3 separate regions of the Homo sapiens genome follow, and all the other regions are linked to region 1. Evidence: promoter capture Hi-C in 16 types of primary human blood cells and fetal thymus (Javierre and others, 2016). All regions are on one chromosome and are shown on one strand. Each heading gives the region's core, a stretch centred on a gene start or on the middle of the fragment in contact. The rest is flanking DNA. Distances are from core to core; before and after follow the strand shown. Region 1 holds the start of KCNH8 (potassium voltage-gated channel subfamily H member 8). Region 2 overlaps RAB5A (RAB5A, member RAS oncogene family). Region 3 overlaps EFHB (EF-hand domain family member B).

Region 1 (3,819 bases), core at 955-3,454:
TAACCTATCTTATTAACATTAATGTGTAGCCAACATAGAAAAAGAACTATTCACAAGTACATCCATCTCTCCCTACATGCCCTCCTGCTTATCATGCATATCACTATAGTCAGAGTCAGAGGCCAAGATATTTCCACGCTGATGATTTAAAGCCCCTCTCATTAGCAATTGATATCTGAATGTATCACTGCAGTAATTCCCAAGGCTGTGCTGGGATGATTCACTACACATTACACTTCATTCAACTTTAAATGGCAATGAGATAAACAATTACCATTTGCCAATTACCTCATTTTCAATAGACAAATTCAGGATCAATGTTTACAGCCTTTTAGTTTTGGATGTTCAACTTCAAAAAAAAAAACATCCACATTAAACTGATCAGTACCTCAGGTAATGAATAGTAAAATAGTAGTATCCGCCATCATGCATGGTAAAACACAGCAGTGGTGATTTTGTGTGGCGCTTCAGTGGTGTGGTAGTGGCAATGGCAGGGACTTGAAGTTTTCCTATAATATTTATCATTATTATCTAAAAAAGACATACGTAATAACATTACACCTCATACATAACATCTAACACATTTAGAATATAAAAGGGAAAAGAATGGCTAGATGTAAAGATAAAAACACTTATGAAGTGACCAAATATCCACACCAACTACCATGATTAGACTAGATGTCAAAAATAAAAACTGAACAAAATTAAAGTGATTCATTTCTTTCTCATGTAAACTTTTCCAACTATCCCTGAAGCATAAGTCCAAGACTTGCTTCCCACCCAAAGATAAGACTGTGTATTTAGACTACTGGAGTGGAAATGAAATTAGTATTGCTCTCCCATATCAGCTCCAAGAAATATACAGAGTAAAAGCAATGACACTTGAACCACTAAGAAGGACTTTAGGATAAATGAGTTTCTCTGAGTCTCAACAGAAAAATGGAAGACAGTGCACAGAAGCAAGATAAGCTAGAAAGAAGATGAGGATATTCGTAGTGAAACCAACTGAGAGCATTTGTTAGGGGTGGTAGTACAGACTCCTAATTACAGGGTTAAAGCCAGCTAGGAAGATCCACAGGGTCAAGTAGAGAGCTTGAAAAGCCTGAGAAGGAGTGGGGACCTGACCGTGGTCCTGAAAGAGAACAACTTGCAGATGATAACGAACCGTCTGCTAGCAACCACACAACATCCTATCTATTTTTTTTCCTACTGTAGCTTAAATGAGCTAAATGTCCAATAATATTCGTACTCAAAAAAAAAAAACTAAAAACTTTCTCTTATCATCAAATCGTCTTTATTCATGTCCTTCTTCCTGAACAGCCTCTGCTTGAGTGTTAGGCTCATTTAAGGATTAAAAGATACGCTATTCTAGCTCAAAAGCAGGAATCAAGGTTCTGACAAACTCACAACACTTAAAATTCTACAGAAAGCTTACACTTGGCAATCCTGCATTTCTTAAACTCAGATAGAAAATCATACCTATCCGAAATATATCACGGAATGAAGCTCCAAGAAAGAACACTCCAAGCTCTCCTTTTGATCTAGGGAGCCTTGAAACTCTAGAAAGATTAGGTACACCGATATTCCCCTTTTCACCTCAGAAAATTACAACCAATTCCCTAAAGATACACCAAAATGCAGGTCCCACAGTGAATACGGGCGTCGGTCTTTCCTCAGGCTGCGTTTCAGTCCTTAACAAACCCAAGAACTCAAGAGAGCCAACTATTACACCAATACAAAGTGTTAATACTACACCAAACCATGAGGGAACAAATTTCTCCGCACAAAAGATACCTTGGCAAGAACAGAAGAAAATTCACTCCGCTGGTGCAAAAGGGAAGGTGGGAGCAAAAGTAATGTGTACGAGAAAAATCAGTCTCAGAAAATGCCATACCACTCGTTCAAGTGTAAGACTTACGTGTTCCGTCAAAACGGGTGGCGATGGTGTCCAGGAAGGTGTTTTGCGGCGCCAGTAATCCTTTCATAACCGGCATTTTTCCAGCGTGGTGTGAAATTCTCCATCAAAGTTTGTCCAGAAGGATGGTTCGAAAGGAAAGTGCCAAGAAGGGAGAAGGGGAACCTGATGACGGCAGGGAAGGGGGACCCGGCCTGACGGCGGGGCCGAGCAGGGGAAGTGGAAGGATGGAGGGAGAAAGGGAGAGAGTTCCAGCCGCCCCGGCTGTGGCAGGAGGAGCCCCAAGAGCGCTCCCCGAGCCCGCCCCGCACCTCCAGGCTCAGCCCGGCGCAGGCTCCCTCTCCCGCCCCCTCCACCCCCGCCAGCTGCTGAAACCCCCCCACCGTCCCTCCGCGGGCAACAGTGCCCGCCAGGCGCCGCCGCGCGGTGCCTCGCCCCCCACGTCGCCCGCCCGGAAAGAGCCCGCAGTGGCCCGGGGCGCCGCGCCCTGACCGACGTCTCTGGGGTCTGGGAGGGCGGCGCTGAGAGCTGGGAGAGGCGCTGAGCCTCCCGGTCTCCACGGGACGCCGGGAAAGGAGAGCGAGCGCAACTCCCACGCCCCGGGAGCCAGTGAACAAAGACCCCTTTGTTCCCTCTCCGTCCCACTCCCGGGGAGACTGGAGTCCCGTGGGTGTGGTATTGGAGAAAGGGAGGAGACAGGTCGGGGCAGGTATCCGGCCTCAACCTAGAACTTAGGAGGGGGAGGCCCCCCAGTGGTGTCCAAGGGAGCAGAGGCAGCCAGGAGCCCCACGGGGAGGCGGCCCCCTTCCGGAGCACTTGCCATTGCGAGCCCACGCGACAGGGGCAGGGCAGCCCGAGTTAGTTGTGAGGCCCATCCCCAGTCACCAGGGTCTTTTAGTCCGGGAAACTGGCCCCGAGCTCCAAAAAGGGGTGCTTCAGCCCTTCTCCCCAAATTGCCATTGGCCTCCCCAAGCCATCCCAAACTTTAAAAAAATAGCCTTTTGAACGGACAATGGATGGTTTCCCATTCTCCGGTAAAATGTGAATAAAGCATTTCTAGAAAAGTTTGCTATTTTTATTAATTTGCAAAATACCACGTAAGTAAAAACAGTAAGGCTGCCTTCCAAAAATAGCTTCAAACACAAATCCCCTAGCCTGCCCCCCTTTCCCCAGCCCCCACTCCCGAAGACTGACACCTCCAAGAAGAAAGCCTGGCGGACGGCCAGGAACTGAAGGCGTCTCAGAAAACGAAAGTGGTCTCTCCCAGTCCTCCCCCCTGGCCCCCCCCGCGGGGACTCCCTCTCGGCCAACGTTCTGCGGGGAAAGTCGCCCAAGCCTGCGGCACAGCCCTGTGGGGAGTGCAAGGGGACACCCAGAGCCCGAACTTTATAGAAAACTCTGCAAGGGAGGTGGAGTGTGGAAGGGAAGTTGAGAGCCCCAGGGTAGAAAAACAAACGTAAGCCCAGGTGCTAGTGCACCCGGAAGGAAAGGAGGGAAAAAGCAAACAGGTGTCAGAGCCGCGGCGAGGCAGCTCTGATCTCCAGGAACTCGGGCGTGGCGGGAGGAGGGAGGGAGGGCCCACCCCCCGCCCCCTTACTAAGGGGGTTTCTTGTTTCAATTATCTCGGCTGTTGGGGCTTCGGGGGGGACCCCGCGGGTTTCGTCACGTCTGCCTTGGGCTCCGGGAGGGAGGGGGAGAAGAGAGAGAAGCGGCATCCCCCTCTCCCCGCCCCCAGGCCCCCTTTCTCGTGATGCACTTCCTGCGGCCGAGGATTCCCTTTGTGTTGAAATTCGAGAAGATCCGGCAGAGGCTCTAGGCTAGCTGGGCGGGGGCGCGCCGGGGAGGGGACAGGATTCCGGAGTGGGCGGCGCGGGGCGGCCATCCCAGAAGAGAAGCTACCAACG
Region 2 (3,819 bases), core at 1-2,500, 800 kb before region 1:
GTCCCACTGCTATATAATTATAGGTTTCTTTGATTAAAGTCAATTTTTTTTAAGAGATGGGTTCTCATTATGTTGCCCAGGCTAGACTTGAACTCCCAAGCTAAAATAATCCTGCCTCAGCCTCCAAATACCTGGGACTACAGGAATGCACCACCATGTCCAGCTAAAATTCAATTTTCCCATTTCACGTCCTCTCTTGACAATACTGTACTGTTTGTTGTCTCCTTTTCACCCTGCATCTTACCTTCCCCTCATCTCTGTCCCACCATAACCACCCTTGTCAGTGCCTACTCTTTCCCTTCTTCTTTCATCTTTTTCTTCAGGTTCCATTTTCCTGTTATGTCCCTTTCCATTAATCACTTTTTCTCTTCCCTCAGCTTAGGAGCATTCTTACATATGCATCTCAGCAGGGAGCACCTGTAATCACAGCTACCTGGGAGGTTGAGGCTGGAGGCTCACTTGAGGCCAGGAGTTCAAGACCAACCTGGAAACACAGCGAGACTCTGACTCTTAAAAAAAAAAAAAAAAAACTTGCCTGGCATGGTGGCATGCACCCTTAGGTCCAACTACTTGGTGGGAGGCTAAGGCAAGAAGATCATTTGAGCCTAGAGTTTCAGGCTGCAGTCTGCAGTGAGCTATGATCCGGACACTGCACTCCAGCCTAGGCGACAGCAAGATCCCATCTCTTAAATACCAAAAAAAAGTACATCTAGCAGTATTTAATTACATTTAATTTTACAAGTAAGTATAATTATTTGCAAATACTTCAGTTATATAGATCAGAATTTAAGGTTACCTTTTTTACTATTCATTTTAAACCAATATAATTGAGCACAAACATGTACTGTATTAATTTGAAGAAGCTTCTAGTTGTTAGCTAGAAATAGGTATCAGGTCAAATGTTATTACTTGAGACACTGATTCTACTCATGTTTTTTATCTGTATTTTAGCTACAATATAACCACAAGGGATTAACCAAACAATCAAATATAAAAACACATCATTTTAACAAAGATAAAGGCAAGTTTTAAAGCTAAGGTAAGCTGAACAGCTCTTTTCTTCACTCTATGACTTATTTAGCTATTCATAATCACACAATTGGAACATCAAAATATTTTCTGTCAATGTATGATTCGATTAAATGAAGCAGGGAAAAAAGAAAATCTCACCCCCAATGGTACTCTCTTGAAATTCATGAAATTGGCCTTTCACAAAACGAAGCACTAGGCTTGATTTGCCAACAGCGGACTCTCCCAGAAGTACTAGTTTGAACTGGCATATTTTATTTCCCGTATTTGGCCCGTTGGGTCTTGTTGCGCCTCGACTAGCCATGTCCAAATTTGAAATAAGTCCCTAATTTCAGACTCTTCAATGAACTTCCAGAATTCAAGGGGCCAATATTCTTCTTTCTGGAGGTAAAGAAACCTGTAAAGAAACAATTATGAATTAAATATACAAATCAGTAAAGCAAATTTACTATTAATCACTTTAAATATTGCCTATAGCATGATTATCTTAAACTCTACTAGACCTTCAATGCCCTTTAGATTATGTCACTATCTTTTAAAGGAAATTCAAAGGTATAGGATGTGAGTCCAAAATTACTTTTTTTTTTAAAGGCTAACCTCAAAGCTTCAAGTTTGTGCCAGGCAGTGCTTTAAGTACTTAACTTCTCAACAATCCTATAAAATGAGATATTATTACAATCCTTATAAATGAGGAAACAAGCACAGAGATGTTAAGAAGCTTAATTGAGGTCACACAGTTATTGTCACAGAAGTGACAGAGCCGAGTTTCAAACCCAGGCAACCTGAGAGATGACTCGAGTTCAAGTTCTGTAGCCAGGCTACTTGGATTAACATTGTTTTGAGAAAAATTATGTTATTAATAAATGGGAAACTTTTAGAACAGATCCTAAAATTTAGTATTATTTGAAGTTTTCTGTTAAACGATGCATTTTTCATTTAATTAATGGTAATTTTGGACAACAAATATTTTCAGTCTCCCAGGTTTGTGTGCCTAACGGCAGACTTAAAACTGTTTCCTCATCTGCTCAAGCACACCATACACAGAAATGCTAACAGTTGTTCTCCATGTGGTGATTATTACTGACTTATTTACTTACAATAATTGTAACTTTTTTGTAGTCTTTAGACGAACAATATACATGCCATTTTTAAAAAAATTTTTTTGGAGAAAGGGTTTTGCTCTCTCACCCAGGCTGGAGTGCAGTGGCGTGGTCACAGCTCACTGCAACCTAGACCTCCTGGGCTCAAGCAATCCTCCTGCCTCAACCTCCTGAGTAGCTGAGACTACAGGCGCTCAGAACCATGCCAGGCTAATTTTTTGGTAGAGACACTTAACTGCTATGTTGCCCAGGATGATCCTGAACTCTCGGGCTCAAGCAATCCTCCTGCCTCAGCCTCGCAAAGTGCTGGGATTACAGGTGTGAGCCACCACGCCCAGCCTGCAGGCCATTATTTTTTATTTAAACAACACATTAAAGAAATCTAGCCTGAATGGCGACTTCTATGCTAATTTTTAATCTCTAAGGAATTAGTGAATATTTGAAGAACCTTTTTCAATCCACTCACAAACCAATCTTAACAGTTTCCTTCTATCTTTAATCAAAATCCGAATACATGCTAATATATTAAACCTGATGATTCCCTCTCTAAAAACCCTGCTATATTTCATTTAGCTACCTCATATAAGAAATACGTCTTTCACACTGGACAGAGTGGCTTATACCGGTAAATCCCAACACTTTGGGGGTGAGGCAGGAGGACTCTGAGACCAGCCTGGGCAACACAGTGAGACCCTGTCTCTATATTAAAAACAAAAGAAAGAAATATGCCTTTCCCATAAAATGAGCTTATAATACGCTCTTCATAATGAATTCCCTAACATGTCCACGAGATCTTAGTTCTTAAGGCAATGAAACTACCTCCTTGCCTTAACTAAACACCAGCTTTTTAGAGTCCTTATCTTTTACCATTACATACTGAAATATTTACAGATTTATTGACGTAATATCTGAGTTGCTTCCAAATAACAAGGTATAAATAAAAATGCCCCCTCCTCCACAAACATACCAGATTTAGGGGTGTAATCCTGGCTATACCAATTTCCGTCTGGGCAAACTCTTTAATTTCCAAGTTTCTATTCCCATAATATCTAACTTGCATAGCTGATGTGACAATTAAATAAAACAATACATGTAAACAATCTCTAATATACATAGTAGGGATTGAAATTGCCAATAATGTGCTCCTTTGATAAGAAAATGATAAAATATCAATAGAACATCATATATACTGAAAATGCACCAATACATCTTCAGATATTACACACAATCAAAACATTTTCCATTTGTCTTTTTATTTAAGAAAACAAGAAATTACTTATCAAGGACAATATGCTCCAAATTTCTACGGCACTTCCAAAATTTTAGGGAAAATATCAGACTCCCATTAAAAAAAAAAATCAAACAAGATTCTGATTTCACTTTGACTTTTAAGGTTTAAAGCTACTTAATTGTGGCTACTCCCCCTAAGGATCTCAAACAGGAAATAACTAAAGTTAATGGTAAATATACACTTAGCATAACACTAAGGTTAAAAATTACGTGCATTCATTTGTATTCACTGCTTACTGAAACTTCTGTTTTGCAAAACAAGAATTTTGCATAATATACATTTGTAATCTTTTGAAAATAACTGTTATTCATTCTATAGTTAAAATCCTTCTAAGGGTTCTTTGATCAAAAAATTGACTGGGCACTTATTTTGTGCCAGGCACTGTTCCATTTACTTTGT
Region 3 (3,819 bases), core at 907-3,406, 740 kb before region 1:
CTTTTTATGCCTGGTTGCTACCAAAAGGGCGGACCAACCCTACTGGCCCGGGATTGCTGTTGCATGGTGCTGTTGCACCATGTCCAGGAATGGTCATGGAAGTAACACCAATTTTCAAAATAAGTCTTTATAACCCCTGCCCCTTTTATTCTGATTATTATTCAGGAAGCAGCTGAGATAGAATGAGTCCTTTCTGGGGACAGCTGCATTGAGTGACCAAACAGCTTTACTAAGATGTGGGCACCAGGAGCTGGTGAGAGAAGTAGACAGTTTTTGAGAAGGCCATTCCAATGCACAATAATACCATATGACAATGGACGGTAGGGAGTAAGAAAGCTTCATTGAATACCTTGACTAATAGCTCATTGCTGAATAGCTTTTGTGCTATAGGGTGCACCCCATTGACAGACTGAAAATGTTCCAGAAAGCAAAACGCACAACCCAGATTAACTTAACTTTATGGGCCCTACTGTTGGGACTAGACCCATATGATTGGACTGGAATGGCAATTCCATAACTTGAATAAGTGTCAATATTGGTGTGGCACCACCAATAGCTCTGAGGAGGGAGGGGTCAGAGGTTCACTGTAGTCAGTCTGTCAGGAGCATGAGGGAGATCCCTATGTGTGATGTGTCCTCTCTCACCGTAAGACAAATGAGTCAACTTCTGGCAGTCACAAGTTTGGCATGTAGTGGTGGCTTCTGCATTAGAAACATGGAGTTCTTTACCTTGTGCTCTGTGTGTAATGGGGGTGTGTTGCCATGTATGTACAGGCAGCAATGTTGGCAATCTGGATGGTTCAGGCTTGATCAGCAGCTTGATTCCAATCATTCCCATGCTTATGGTGAGTATCTACATGAACTACCCAGATAGTTCAATCAGTAGCCATAATTTTTGTCCTATAGTTTGCAGTCCCTTAAAGGGGTGTCTTTAATCTGCTATTTTATTGTTTTCCAAGTGGCCAACCAAATAGGTAGGCCACAGTCAACAGCCCAAGAGTCAGTAAAAATATAACAGGTTTATCAAGGGGAGTATTTGCCAGAGCCATGAGAATGGCCTTTAGTTTAGCTCAGTGAAGACCACCAGGTTTCAGCTCAGCCAGACTATAAGTGAAACAGGCCCAGGCATTTAGAGGAGGTTCTGTGAATTGAGGGTCCTCTTGAGCCAGTGGCTTTGCTTCAGGTGACAGAGTGGTGAATAATTTTTTTTTTCTAAAGGATCACTTCTCAGCTGAGTGTGGTGGCTCACACCTACAATTCTAGCATTTTGGGAGGCTGAGGCAGGAGGATAGTTTGAGGCTGGGAGTTTGAAACCAGCCTGGGTAACATAGTGAGACTCCATCTCTACAAGTAAACACAAATAGTTAGCCAGGAGTGGTAGTGCCAGCTACTCAGTAGGCTGAGGCAGGAGGATCACCTGAGCCCAGGAGTTTGAGGCTGCAGTGAACTATGATTGTGCCACTGCATTCCAGCCTGCACAACTGATTGATAGCCTGTCTCAGCAGCAGCAGCAATAACAACAACAAAAATATTGCTACTCTTTTACACGTAAAGCTGAGATGTTACTGGGGTTGGGCTGGCTGCATTCTTGAATATGCCATTTCCATTTGACATATGAGGCTTGTTTGCTCCTTTTTCATTTTGTTAGTCATTTAGTCCAAGTTGGCCGGCCTCAAAATGATTATTGGCTGGAGAGTCAGAAGGCCTCCATGGGTCCAGTGTTCAGTTTCCAGAAGAGCTCAGTGACAGGCTAATAGCTGCTTTTCAAAAGAGGTCTACCTGGTAATTATGTTAGGGAGGCAATAAGTCCTAAACTTCACGGTGCACCTCCAAGTGAAGGTTGCCTTTCTTTTCCAGAGGCTCTAATTGGCAAAACCACCAGTTATAGACTTGTAACTCAAAGGAGTCATTAGGGTTATGGGGTCCCAAAGGTAATAACAATTGTCTATACATGGCTCTTCTTGATCAGGATAATCCCCTCTGTCACATATGAACATTCACTCTACAGACATGGAAAGCATCAATACCAATTAAATATTCAGGCTTGGAAGCCGTAGCAATAATACATGGTTATCTTTAATTCTTCTCTGCAAACTGTGCCCAAACCCCATTAACTGAATTCGGACATCCTTCCCTACCATCCTCTCCCAGGACTGACTATGATGATGACTTTGGGAACTGTATCCAAACCATAAAAATGTGAGAATCTCACCCCACTGAACAGATGCATCCCTCTTGAAGACCTGGAGCCCTTGGTCCTACTTCTAATCATCTTTCTCCCTAAAGCGGATGAGATCAGGGCTTGGGGGAGGGAGGGATTAAGGGTGCAGAGGGAGAGAATGGCTTTGCACTAGTAAGTAAGAAATATTTACTTTGATTTTGAGTGGCATGGTGGTGGCATGGTAGCTCCATGAAACAAACCACCAGTGTTTTCAGTGCACACAAAGCCCTGCATATTAGGCGGTAATTTATCGTTGACAGCATCTGTTTCAGTTTTGGGGCTCTCTTGATTCAACAGCCACATCCCGCATTGCTTTTCAGCTAGGATGAGTGTGGGTTTGCATTTTTGGTTGTAGTAGAGACTTTTGTTTGTTTTTGAGATGGAATTTCACTCTTGTTGCCCAGTCTGGAGTGCAATGGCGCAGTCTCGGCTCACTGCAACCTCGGCCTCCTGGATTCAAGCGATTCTCCTGCCTCAGCCTCCCGAGTAGCTGGGATTACAGGCATGTGCCACCACGCTGGCTAATTTTGTATTTTCAGTAGAGACGGGATTTCTCCGTGTTGGTCAGGCTCCCAAAGTGCTGGGATTACAGGCATGAGCCACCGTGCCTGGCCTGTAGTAGAGACTTTTATAAAGGAGTCTGCTTTAATCCAGGGCATTTGCAGCTGTATTGTCAAGATCATATATTTTAAGTTCTCATTCTGTTTGAATACAAGGGTTAAGTAGGGAAGTTTTCCAGGGCTGTGGGTCTGACTGCAAGAATTTATAATTCATCGAGTCAGTTTCTCGTTCTCCAGGGGATTGCCTCCATCAGCATTGTAAATCCAGTCCTGGGCAGTAAGAGCTTAAATACTACGCAGTGACTCATTTATGATTCCTCTTGGGAGTTATTTCCTCTCAGGGAAGTCTCTCTGAGGGGGCCAAAGCTCCCTTATAGCAGGAAGAATTCACTGCAGAAACAAACAAGAAAACTGGGACCTTTGCCATCATCTCTGAATGGATTTAAGGTTGGCTTGATAGACTGCAGGAGGGACTGAGTGCTAAGATGTCCCAGCTGTTGACATTCTTCCTTAACGAACATTGTGTGCTCTGCCCCTTCATCTCCCAAGTGAATCAGCCAGTTTCTGCTGAGAGCCCTTATACATTTCCCTCTGTTCATACTCAGTGTAGGTACTTCTGTCTTTAACTGCTGTCTGAAAGGAGGTGAGACTTTTTCCCTCCACCCTCCTCCCCCTACTTACCAGGATGAATCTTAGTGTTACTTGTTTCAATGGGGCTGACCATCAGATTGGTAGCATTTCCCTCTTGCCCATAGGAGTGTTATGAAAACCAGACCACTGTCTTTGAACCCACCTCCGTGAACTTGTCCTGCAACTATCTCCCCAATTTCTCCTTAATAACAGGCAATGAAATGAAGGGCCATTTATTGCCAGGTTAAAACACAGAAGGTATTAAAAACTTTGTAAGGATAAAAATTGTAGAGAGCTGTCAAAAGTACACACCTATTGGTCATATGAAATGTCAAGCCCATATCATGGTAATAATGCTCTACCACGGTCTAACCAGCGTATTTGACTCCTCTTCTGTGAAAATTGAGAC

What was found. Contacts are between HindIII fragments. The CHiCAGO score rates a contact against its expected background, and 5 or more counts as called.
Region 2: a contact is called between a fragment that was not itself captured here and the fragment with the promoter of KCNH8 in region 1, in 1 of 17 cell types (total B cells). The highest score is 6.8, in total B cells.
Region 3: a contact is called between a fragment that was not itself captured here and the fragment with the promoter of KCNH8 in region 1, in 2 of 17 cell types (M1 macrophages and total B cells). The highest score is 7.1, in M1 macrophages.

What each region holds. Positions count from the first base shown.
Region 1 is chr3:19,146,895-19,150,713 of GRCh38, reverse strand. It overlaps KCNH8 (potassium voltage-gated channel subfamily H member 8), which reads right to left and starts at 2,204. Exons shown (of 16, transcript NM_144633.3): 1 at 1,919-2,204. The coding sequence starts at 1,994. RefSeq lists enhancers at 2,762-3,355, 3,356-3,819 and a silencer at 3,643-3,814. The HindIII fragment of the contact is 4,663 bases long and covers 1,433-3,819 here.
Region 2 is chr3:19,948,413-19,952,231 of GRCh38, reverse strand. It overlaps RAB5A (RAB5A, member RAS oncogene family), which reads right to left. Exons shown (of 6, transcript NM_004162.5): 2 at 1,171-1,426. The coding sequence starts at 1,333. Among named protein-coding and RNA genes, the nearest start is that of RAB5A, 3.2 kb to the right of the region's middle. The HindIII fragment of the contact is 770 bases long and covers 866-1,635 here.
Region 3 is chr3:19,888,765-19,892,583 of GRCh38, reverse strand. The region is part of intron 9 of EFHB (EF-hand domain family member B); the gene reads left to right. Among named protein-coding and RNA genes, the nearest start is that of EFHB, 44 kb to the left of the region's middle. The HindIII fragment of the contact is 3,636 bases long and covers 339-3,819 here.